Regions from separate parts of the Homo sapiens genome. Here regions 1 and 3 are each linked to region 2. Evidence: promoter capture Hi-C in human tissues and cell types (Jung and others, 2019). All regions are on one chromosome and are shown on one strand. Each heading gives the region's core, a stretch centred on a gene start or on the middle of the fragment in contact. The rest is flanking DNA. Distances are from core to core; before and after follow the strand shown. Region 1 overlaps SIL1 (SIL1 nucleotide exchange factor). Region 2 holds the start of LRRTM2 (leucine rich repeat transmembrane neuronal 2). Region 3 overlaps CTNNA1-AS1 (CTNNA1 antisense RNA 1).

Region 1 (3,690 bases), core at 1,113-3,612, 250 kb before region 2:
TACTTTCTTAGATGGGTACTCACTCTGTTGCCCAGGTTGTAGTGCAGTGGTGCGATCTCAGCTCACCGCAACCTTTGCCTCCCAGGCTTACGCGATCCTCCCACCTCAGCCTCCTAGGTAGCTGGGACTACAGGCATGTGCCACCACACCCAGCAAATTTTTGTATTTTTGGTAGAGATGGGGTTGTGCCATGTTGACCAGGCTGGTCTTGAACTCCTGAGCTCAGGCACTCCACCCATTGGCCTTGCAAAGTGCTGGAACTATAGGTGTGAGCCACCAGACCCGACCCTTTCTTCATTTTTAAGATTGTTTTGGCTATTCTGGGTCCCCCGAAATGTCATATGAGTTTTAGGGATGAGTTTCTCCATTGGGATTTTAACAGAGATTGCTCTGAATCTGTATGTTGCTTTGGGTAGTACTGTTGTTAACAGTATGAAGTCTCTAATTCATGAACATGGGATGTCCTTCCATCCTTATATTCTTTTAATTTTTTTTTTTTTTTTGGAGGGATGGGGTCTCATTCTGTCACCCAGGCTGGACTGTAGTAGTGCAGTCATGGATCACTACAGCCTCATCCTCTGGGGCTTAAGTGGTCTTCCTGCCTCAGCCTTCCACATAGTTGGGACTACAGGCTCACACCACCATGCCTAGCTAATTTTTTTGTTTTTTTAATTTTTTGTGGAGACAGGGTCTCACTGTGTTGTTCAGGCTGGTCGTGAACTTCTGGCCTCAAGTGATCCTCCCACCTTTGCCTGTCCTTTTAATAGCTACTGGGGCTTGTACTTTTATTTGTTTGACTGTTTGAAAGCTGATGTGAGAGGTTTTGTGACTTGGGAATATCGAACTTTGCTGTCTTAGAGGATATTGATGCCATCTGTCTTCAGGTAGGATAATGGGTGTGTTTTAGAAGTGGGTGGTTATAAAGGCTTATGTGGATTTGTGCCCATGTTTGTTCACATGCAGATCAGTTGGTTAGTTTCCCTCTCTCCTTATAGTCAAGACCACCCGCCACAACCTGATAACAAGTTCTAATGAAGAAGGAAGGGACTAGGGCTGTAATAGCTTATGCAGGAGTCCTGATCGACTGTATGGTTCTACCCAGGGCATATCTCTTGTTGGATGGCTGGACCCACCATGGTAGATGGAGGCTTCAGAATTATCTAGAAGTGGTAGAAGACTCGTTATACCTCTATGCAGGAAATGTCTGACATGTGAGCAAGTGACGACATGGGAATCACAGTGCGGGGGAACCAAGCATTAGCTTTTCATTGACCTTCTGTTGTCTATGCTTGCACCTGCAGGTCCCTGACTATGGCTCCCCAGAGCCTGCCTTCATCTAGGATGGCTCCTCTGGGCATGCTGCTTGGGCTGCTGATGGCCGCCTGCTTCACCTTCTGCCTCAGTCATCAGAACCTGGTAAATATCTTTATTGTAAATGGGAGGGACCCTTGATGAGGTCTTGAGAAGGCCTCCCTGTCACCAGGGCTGTTGTGGGAGTAGGGTGTGGGCTTCTATGTTTCTTTCTTATGTGAGTGTGGCTGGCAGTGGATCATGGAGTAGGTAGACTTCTTCCTCCCCATCCCTGTGTCTTCTGGCCTCTGTTTAAAGCTTATGACACAGTTTCCCTTTGGGGAAAATATGATGATGATGATAAATTCATAATTATAATCTTCCATTTACCAAACCTTGTAGTGAGTGCTTTATATGTATTCTCATTTAATCCTCCCAACAACACTATGAAGTAGGCAGCTACAGTTTTTATTCTCCTTTTGAGGAGAAGACTAAGACTCAGAGACATTAAGTAACTTGGCCAAAATCACACAGCCAGTTTGTGAGAGCTGTGAATGTCAGGATTCTTCCCAAAAGCTGAGTGCCTGTGTGGTGGGCATCAGTTCCAAGTAAGACTCTTTTTCTTCCTCTACTCCTCTCTCCCTTGTACTTTCTCAGTTCATCTCCATCTCTGTATCCTCCTTCCTTTTGTCTGTAGCTCCCTGTTCTTTCTGGGCCACACTTCATTAACCTAGAGCTTACTGCTCAGGGCTTCTGCCATTGCCACTGGCAGGAGGAGAATGCCCAGAAAGGCCCTGAGCTTGGCCTGGCTGCAGCACACTACGGTTCCTGGCCCTGTTTACTTGGCTTGTCCCAGCAACAGCCTGCCCTTGACCAGCTCCTAATGCCCTCCCTCTCCTCTCCCTTGATAAGCTCCCACTGTCAGTTATTTGACAGTTTCACCCTCCCCTGGCCACCTTCCCCAACCCCCAGGGCTCCCACTAAATGTTGGATAAAGCGCTGGAAGCTCTGGAGCGGGAGGTCCTTGAAGTGCAAATGACAATTGTGATGAATTTAATAACAATCCAGCTTAGCTGTGGTTCACCTCTGGCTCATGGCAAGCTTCCACCTTCTCTCTGAAATCATTTGTTTCCTCTCTGCCTTTCCCCCCACTTCGTGGAGCAGGGGAAAACATACAGTTAGGAGTCACGAGTCCTTTTGAGTTTTTAATGCCCTCTGAGATCCTGTTGGTGCTGTTTATTTGCCTCTTCTTCAAGGACAGTAAGAATGGGATCCCAGGGGCCCCTGAGAATGGGACTGGCTACAGCGTGAGGTTGGGGCTGTCTCTGGCATGGGTTGGCGGTGGAATGGCCCAGAAAAGAACCTTCAGGGCCCAGGGCTGTGTCCCCTCCCCAACTTGTACCTCATGAGGATGCCATGCTCCCCATCGTGAGCTTTAGCAGATGCACAATTAACAAAGGCATGCTGATGAATTTACTTAAGGACCGAGTTAGGAAGTCCCTTTTGGATAATAGTCCAACCAAATAGATGAGCTTTCAGAGCATAATTATTCTGGCCCATTTATATTAGCTCTATTGAGTCTAGTCTCAGAAAAATGTTAATACTGACTTTCATCAACAGAAGCTGCTTTTATCCTTATGTCTGTTCCTAAGCTGTATCCATTTGTCATAATCTTTCATCATGTGCTAAGCACAAGTAGGAGTTGAAGCATCTTTTCTCTCATACCATAAAAATTGCTGCCCTGATGTCATTTAAAATCTAAATTATGCAGCCAGCCACCTTCACAACAGTGAAAATGGGGTGGAGGTGGTTATGATCCTTTCTTCAGAGCCTGGAGTCCAGGTAAGTGCTCCTGATGACCTAGAATTGTCCTCCCCAAAGGCATTGGGGCAGGTTAATGCCCACCCAGGAAAGGCCGGCTGTGTGTATCACAGTATGATCTGGAGCCAGCTTTCCTTCCTGGCTCCTGCTGTGGTACTTCCCCGGGATGCCACATCTCAGGAGGCGTGTAGATGCTGAAGGGCTGTGGTTGTGTGTTACTGGCCTTGAAAAAGGTGGTAAACAATGAGGCGGGTACAGTAGTGGAGCCTTGTGGAAGGCGCACAGGCCCTTCGTAAGATCCCTTTTGCCTCCCACTTTGGCAATTTGACCCTTTCTGAGCTTTGTTTCCTAATCTGTAAAACAGGGTTGGTACCTCCCTCTTAAGGTTTTAGTGTAGATTAAATATGATTATATATAAAGCACCTGGCATTGAAACTGGCACAATATGGCCAATAAATGGTTAATGAATGTCAGCTGTTGTTTTTTAGTATGGGGATGCTGCTTCTATGGTTTAATTTGGGCTGTGTCAAGCAGGCTTCTGTCCCAAAACGTTGCCCTGGCAGTCTGTCTCTGTTACAG
Region 2 (3,659 bases), core at 1,150-3,649:
GGCTCACGCCTGTAATCCCAGCACTTTGGGAGGCCGAGGCGGGTGGATCATGAGGTCAGGTGATCGAGACCATCCTGGCTAACAAGGTGAAACCCCGTCTCTACTAAAAATACAAAAAATTAGCCGGGCGTGGTGGCGGGCGCCTGTAGTCCCAGCTACTCAGGAGGCTGAGGCAGGAGAATGGCGTGAACCCGGGAAGCGGAGCTTGCAGTGAGCCGAGATTGCGCCACTGCAGTCCGCAGTCCGGCCTGGGCGACAGAGCGAGACTCCGTCTCAAAAAAAAAAAAAAAAAGAAATTTAAGAGACCACTCCTATGAGACTACTGTCCTTAGAACTTTTGGGGGCAAGTTCCTGTAGAACAGCAGCTCTGAAACCTAGGGTGAGAGACCCTGTAGGAATCGGACTCAACCTTATCCACAGAAAAATGAACAAGCAAAAAAATTTCACAAGACAGTTTATGGAACCAGGTTAAGAAGTTCTAGCCTATTGAGAGAGACTATAGGAAGGATTAAGGTCAGAGGGGGAGTAGCATTCCCCGGGTCTAAACCAGGACTTGTTTCCTTCCCTTCTTTAACCAGCAAGAAGGAACAAAGAGGACGTACTAGTGCAGGCTCATTACTAAGGACTCAAGAGTCTGTTCACTGGCAACTTTGGCTTGGGAATTTCCATTCAGCCTACAAAATGTGTCTAAGAACCACAATGCCAATCTCATCTTCTTTGCTTCCTCTGTCCCTTCACAGGTGTCAGACCTGCCCTGTGGTACGAAGACTCTCAGAGCATTCCTGCTGCCTTCTGTCTCCCTTTGTACTTCGTAGGCATTTTTGCCTCTTGTACTTCTAATTCTACCTTGGGATCACTTCTAGGAGGACTCAAACCACACACCTGCACTGCTGCAGTTTTCATAGCACCTTTACACAGAGCCCTAAGGAAGGGACCTTGGAGTCTCACAGCTCTCACTCCAGCACAACACTACAACAGAAAAATTTTACCCAAGACAATTACTTCTTAGATCTGCCCAGTGGGATGAATCCCTCAGAACCAAAAAGGCCAACGATGTTCTTGTTTCACAGACACCATCAGTAGTTTTAAAGATGTCTGTCCTTAGGTCTGAGACAAGACCCACAAAGGGTAAGTGCCAATGATATGGGAGAAATAGGTATGTTGGGTCAAATCAATAAGGCAAGATGTAGAAAAGGGCTTACCTTTGTCAGGCCTGAAAATATAACATCTAGAAACATCTTTTGCATTTATATAACACTAAACATGGAGCTATACATCCACAACTGAGGTCTGAAAAGTGAAGACACCATTCAACAGGGAGAAACTGGAGTTAGGGCAAGCAAAATCAAGTCAAAACAAAAATCCCAGTCCAAAGCATGAGTGACCTTTTGTATTCACAAGACAGGTTCTAACAACAGCAGTAGGCTCAGTTAAGTCAGCCACTTGGTGGCTGGGAACTAGGGTGCAAATGCTCTATTATTTCAGTGTCACAACCACCAACCTCAGTACCAGCGGAGGCTTTTAGTTATGGAGTAGGTGAGATTCTGAGGTAAAATACAAGGGGCCATGTCAGAATCCAGCTACACGGTATCACTTGTCCTAAATCATCTCTGCTTTGCTGTTAGGGCATGTGCATTAAAATGACTGTATCAACCTGCCTTGTCCTCCCAGGAGGACATTTAAAGATCAACTCAGCATTATTTTTTCAATCAGTATGGCGACAAAACATTGTTATAAAATAGGAGAAAGAGAAATCTTTTTAGAGTTCCCCTGAAATTCTCAAAGAAAAAAATAACCACATGCTTTGTTTTGCAAGCTTCCCCTCCCCCTTTATTCTTCGTTTATAATGTTAAGCTCTTGATGACAAACAAGCCAAGCCCACTTAGCTAGTTTATCAACACATCTAAAGCAAATCATAGTCATACTTTGATTTTAACCAAGCATGACAACAAGGCAACTGAATAGCTTTCCAAACTACCAGTGCAGCGACACTACCTTGCATAGGCTGGTGTTAAATCAGCACTTCATAAATTGTGCAGGCTTCTGCCCATTTAGATGATCTCTCTATGCAGAATCGGCAGTCTAACACTGGCTCTCACAAGCATTAAAAATCATCACTCTGCTAACCCAACTCACTGTTCAGATGGGTCTTCTTGAATGCAGCCTTTATTACAACCTCACTGCTGCTTCCTACACTGAAGGAATATCATGTTTTTAAGTCAGGAGTTCTTCTTTCTCGCTTTATTGTAATCAGGGGGTCCTGCAACGACCCCGATGCTGTTACAAAGCATGGTGCTTTATAACAGTAAAGCTTCTGGAAAACCCAAACAAAAGACACGTCATCCGGTGACGTCAGCCTATATACAGTTCTGTGTGGTCGCAGCACATAAGCAAATCCATTCTTGTGCCGTTTCTCGGAAAAGCTTTTCAGTAAATGCACTCATGCTGCTCCAGGAGCTCTTCTCTGCAACAAGCCACCCATCTGCCATCAACAAGTTAAGACCAAGAGAACTAACGGCTGCGGAAAGGAGACTGAAGCTTTGATTAACCAGCTGAGCAGTTAGAGGTGGAGAAATTTAATAACTTATATTCAAAACTGATTTAGGGATCAGAGCAATCACAGAAAATGAAACCAATGCTTTCCAGAGGGATATCCTAAGGAAAAAACAACTCGTCCTGGTGGATTCAATTTTACTTGGAAAGCCTGGGACACAGAAAACAGGAAACTGGTCAAAGGCTCCTACATGTTAGAGCCTTTTACAGACTCACTGCGTTGAGTCTAACAACCGCGACTGAATGCAGCCTCCAATGTGCTCAGAAGAATGGGTAAGTCTGTGCATTTATATGTCTTGTACATTCAACAAGGAATCACGCTTTTAAAATAAGCTACCGAATTCACATTTTATGAGGGAAATCACCATCATATTTTGGATTTTGAGGTTTAGGTAAAAGCATATATCGATGATGACAGAGACATGTTTTATCTTCTTTTTAAATGGCTTAAGTTTTGGTCCAGTCATACCAATAAGGTTAATTTTTCTGCAGTAAATGAAAAATAAGTTATATGCAGTGAAATCTTTTGCTATAATGTTGGTGGTGGTTGTTTTTTTTAAATAGCCCATATGTTCTGCTGAAAAATATCCTATCTTCTTGTTTTCCTTAAATTATATTCTGCAGGCTTACATTTCAAGTGGCCATTAGGGGCCCCTATGCTGGCAGCAATATATGCAATGAGTATGGTTTTAAAAATGCTGCCTGCCCTGGGTATGGCGTGTCCACCCAAATGCCGCTGCGAGAAGCTGCTCTTCTACTGCGACTCTCAGGGCTTCCACTCAGTGCCAAACGCCACAGACAAGGGCTCTCTGGGCCTGTCCCTGAGGCACAATCACATCACAGAGCTCGAAAGAGATCAATTTGCCAGCTTCAGTCAACTTACTTGGCTCCACTTAGATCACAATCAAATTTCAACAGTAAAAGAAGATGCTTTTCAAGGACTATATAAACTTAAGGAATTAATCTTAAGTTCCAACAAAATATTTTACTTGCCAAACACAACTTTTACCCAACTGATTAACCTGCAAAATTTGGACCTGTCTTTTAATCAGCTGTCATCTCTGCACCCAGAGCTCTTCTATGGCCTTCGGAAGCTGCAGACCTTG
Region 3 (3,631 bases), core at 106-2,605, 130 kb after region 2:
TTTGGTCACTCTCCTCCTTGAAACACTTTCTTCATTGGGCCTCCAGGGCACCAGGCTTTCCTGATTTCCATCCAGCCTTCCTGGCTAAGCTTCTTAGTCTCCATTGATGATGACTTCTAATTCCTCCTAACCTCTAAATGTTAGAGCAGGGATTCTCAAAGTATAGTCTGGACATCACTGATAACTTTTCAGGGAGTAATGTGGTAAAAACTATTTTCACAATAATTCTAAAATATCATTTGCTTTTTTATGCTCATTTTCTCCCGGGTGTACAGTAGAGTATTCCACAGGCTAAATGATGTATGATGTGGCATCACATGCAATGTGAAAGCACATATGAGAATCCAGCTATCTTTTATTAAGTCAGATAGAGATTTGTAAAAATGCAAAACAACAACAGTTCTCCCTGAATTTTTCTTTTGTTTTAGAAAACATGGTTATTTTTCTTTTCAAAAATGTTATTTATTGATAAGATGTAATGGACTTGCTATTGTTATTTTTTAATGAATTAATAAATATTTTGAAATTGTTTATTTTAATTTCTAATACAGGGTCTTGCTCTGTTGCCCAGGCTGGAGTGCAGTGGTGCTATCATAGCTCAGTGTAGCCTTGATCTCCCAGGTGCAAGCAATCCTTCCACCTCAGCCTCCCCAGTAGCTGGGACTACAGATGCACACCACCACGTGTGGTTAATTTTTAAATTTTTCTTTTGTAGAAACAGGGGTCTCACTCTGTTGACCAAGCTGGTTTTGAACTCCAAGCCTCAGTGATCCTGCTGCCTCAGCCTCCCAAAGTGTTGAGATTACAGGTGTGAGCCACCCTGCCAGGCCTATAGTAAATATTGATAGATAAAACTTTCATAAGCAAGAGTTCTTTGAGATCTTCAAATTTTTTATAGTGTAAAGGAGTCTTGAGATCAAAAAAAGTTAAAAACTTTGGCTGGGTGCGGTGGCTCACACCTGTAATCCCAGCACTTTGGGAGGCCGAGGCGGGTGGATCACCCAAGGTTGGGAGTTCGAGACCAGCCTGAACAACATGGTGAAACCCCATCTCTACTAAAAATACAAAAATTATGGCCAGGCGTGGTGGCTCATGCCTGTAATCCCAGCACTTTGGGAGGCAGAGGTGTGCAGATTACCTGAGGTCAGGAGTTCGAGACCAGACATGGTGAAACCCCATCTCCTTAAAAATACAAAGTTAGCTGGGCATAGTGGTACATGCCTGTAGTCCCAGCTACTTGGGAGGCTGAGGCAGGAAAATCGCTTGAACCTGGTAGGCAGAGGTTTCAGTGAGCCAAGATCACACCATTGCACCCCAGCCTGGGCGACAAGAGCAAAACTCTGTCTCAAAAAAAAAAAAAAAAAAAAATTAGCTGGGTGTGGTGGCACATGCCTATAATCCCAGCTACTCCAGAGGCTGAGGTAGGAGAATCACTTGAACCCGAGAGGCGGAGTTTGCAGTGCACTCCAGCCTGAAGTTATAAATTTCTGTTAAAGTGTCCCAGGGCTCTGTCCTTGGACTTCTTTTTCTACTAATAGCTGTCATTAACCCATTGATGCCAGTCTTTTGACTTGAAATATGCTGACAACTCCAGGTATATATCCCTAACCTGAACCTTTCCCCTGAATTTGCAGCTCACTTATCCAGCTCCCTACTTGATGTTTCCACTTAGATAGCCAATAGGCATCTAGGCATCTCAAACTTTATCTTATTTTTGAGCCAGGGTCTCACTCCATCACCTAGGTTGGAATACAGTGGTTTGATCATAGCTCAATGAAGCCTTGATCTCCCAGACTCAAATGATCCTCAGCCTCCCAAGTAGCTGGGACTACAGGTATGTGCTGCCACGCACAGCTTTTTTTTTTTTTTTTTTTTTTTTTAGTAGAGATGAGGTCTTGCTATCTTCCCCAGGCAGGTCTCAAACTCCGAGCTCAAGTGATCCTCCTGCCTTGGCCTCCCAAAGGATTACAGAAATTAAATGGCATGAGCCACCATGCCCAGCCCATCTCAAACTTTATATGTCTGTATGTCCAAAACTGATTTCCTAATACCACTGTCCAAACCTACTTATCCCATAGTTTTCTTAATTTCCTTAGATGGCAACTCCATCCTCTCATTTTGGCCATGGCTGAGGCCAAAAACCTTGGCGTTATCCTTGGCTATTTTATTTCTTGCATGCATTTCAAATCTGATTCCTTAGACCCTGTACTTCTGCCTTCGAAATAGAGTCAGAACCCACTAACTTTTTTTTTTTTTTTTTTGAGACGGAGTCTCACTCTGTCACCCAGGCTGGAGTGCAGTGGCGCAATCTCGGCTCACTGCAACCTCCACCTCCCAGGTTCAAGCAGTTCTCCTGCCTCAACCTCCCGATTAGCTGGGATTACAGGTGCCCGCCACCACACCCAGCAATTTTTGTATTTTTTTCAGTAGAGACGGGGTTTCGCTGTGTTGGCCAGGCTGGTCTCGAACTCCTAACCTCAAGCAATCCACCCACCTCGGCCTCCCAAAGTGCGGGGATTACAGGCATGAGCCAACGCACCAGGCCCAGAAGCCACTAACTTTTTACTATCACCATTGTTACCATCCTGAATCAAGCCACCATCATCTCTTAGCCTCAATTTTGCCAGGGGAGCCCAACTGGTCTCCCTACTTCTGCACTTGCCTCCCTCAGTCTAGTTTAAGTTCAGCAGCCTGAGTGATCTTGTTAGAAAGTAAGTCCAAGTGGCCAGGCACAGTGGCTCATGCCTGTAATCCTAGCACTTTGGAAGGCTGAGGCGGGCGGATCACGAGGTCAGGAGATGGAGACCATCCTGGCTAACACGGTGAAACCCCGTCTCTACTAAAATACAAAAAATTAGCCAGGCGTGGTGGCGGGCACCTGTAGTCCCAGCTACTTGGGAGGCTGAGGCAGGAAAATGGCGTGAACCAGGGAGGCAGATCTTGCAGTGAGCCCAGATCGCACCACTGCACTCCAGCCTGGGCGACAGAGCGAGACTCCGTCTAAAAAAAAAAAAAAAGTCCAAGCATGTCACTCCTGCTCCACCCAGACCCTCCAGTGGCTCCCATCTCACTCAAAGTACAGAGAAGTGAGGGCCTTATAAGGGCCTCACTTGCCCCGATACTCTTCTCTGACACAGTGTCCTCTTTGCTATCAAGTAGGCTCTTGCCTTAGGGCGTTTGCTTCCTGCCTGGAATGCTCTCCTCCAAATAGCTGCCTGACTTGCTCCCTCACCTCTGCCAGGCACCTTCTCAGTGAGGCTTCCGCTTGGCCACCTTATTCAGAATTGCAACCCGTTTCTCAACATCTCACCCCCCTCTTCCTTGTTCAGTGTTTTCCTTAGCTTATATCACCCTCCTGATATATAAAATCATATTTTAAAAATATATATTTAATACATATTTAAAATTTAAAATAGTCATATATGGTATATAATTTATTGCTTTTCTTCTGTCTTATTCCTGTTAGAATTTCAGCCACACAAGGGCTAGAGTTTTTGTCTATTTTGTTCAGTGCTGTATCCCTGGTGCCTAGAATAGTGCTTGGCACGATGTTGACAAGGTAGATGGGGAGGGAAGGAAATAACTTCATTTTAGACCAAGGGAACAAGGAAGGTTGAAGGCCCCGAGTCCC

What was found. Contacts are between HindIII fragments. The study calls those that stand out against the background at their distance.
Region 1: a fragment that was not itself captured here is called in contact with the fragment with the promoter of LRRTM2 in region 2 in 2 of the 25 tissues and cell types used here (hippocampus and mesenchymal stem cells).
Region 3: a fragment that was not itself captured here is called in contact with the fragment with the promoter of LRRTM2 in region 2 in 1 of the 25 tissues and cell types used here (IMR-90 fibroblasts).

The regions. Positions count from the first base shown.
Region 1 is chr5:139,125,465-139,129,154 of GRCh38, reverse strand. It overlaps SIL1 (SIL1 nucleotide exchange factor), which reads left to right. Exons shown (of 10, transcript NM_022464.5): 2 at 1,302-1,416. The coding sequence starts at 1,312. Among named protein-coding and RNA genes, the nearest start is that of SIL1, 71 kb to the left of the region's middle. The HindIII fragment of the contact is 3,859 bases long and covers 433-3,690 here.
Region 2 is chr5:138,874,075-138,877,733 of GRCh38, reverse strand. LRRTM2 (leucine rich repeat transmembrane neuronal 2) reads left to right here and starts at 2,399. Exons shown (of 2, transcript NM_015564.3): 1 at 2,399-2,826; 2 at 3,178-3,659. The coding sequence starts at 2,823. All of the region lies in intron 7 of CTNNA1 (catenin alpha 1), which reads right to left. The HindIII fragment of the contact is 3,441 bases long and covers 2,065-3,659 here.
Region 3 is chr5:138,745,021-138,748,651 of GRCh38, reverse strand. All of the region lies in intron 1 of CTNNA1-AS1 (CTNNA1 antisense RNA 1), which reads left to right. Among named protein-coding and RNA genes, the nearest start is that of CTNNA1, 6.6 kb to the left of the region's middle. The HindIII fragment of the contact is 3,336 bases long and covers 1-3,023 here.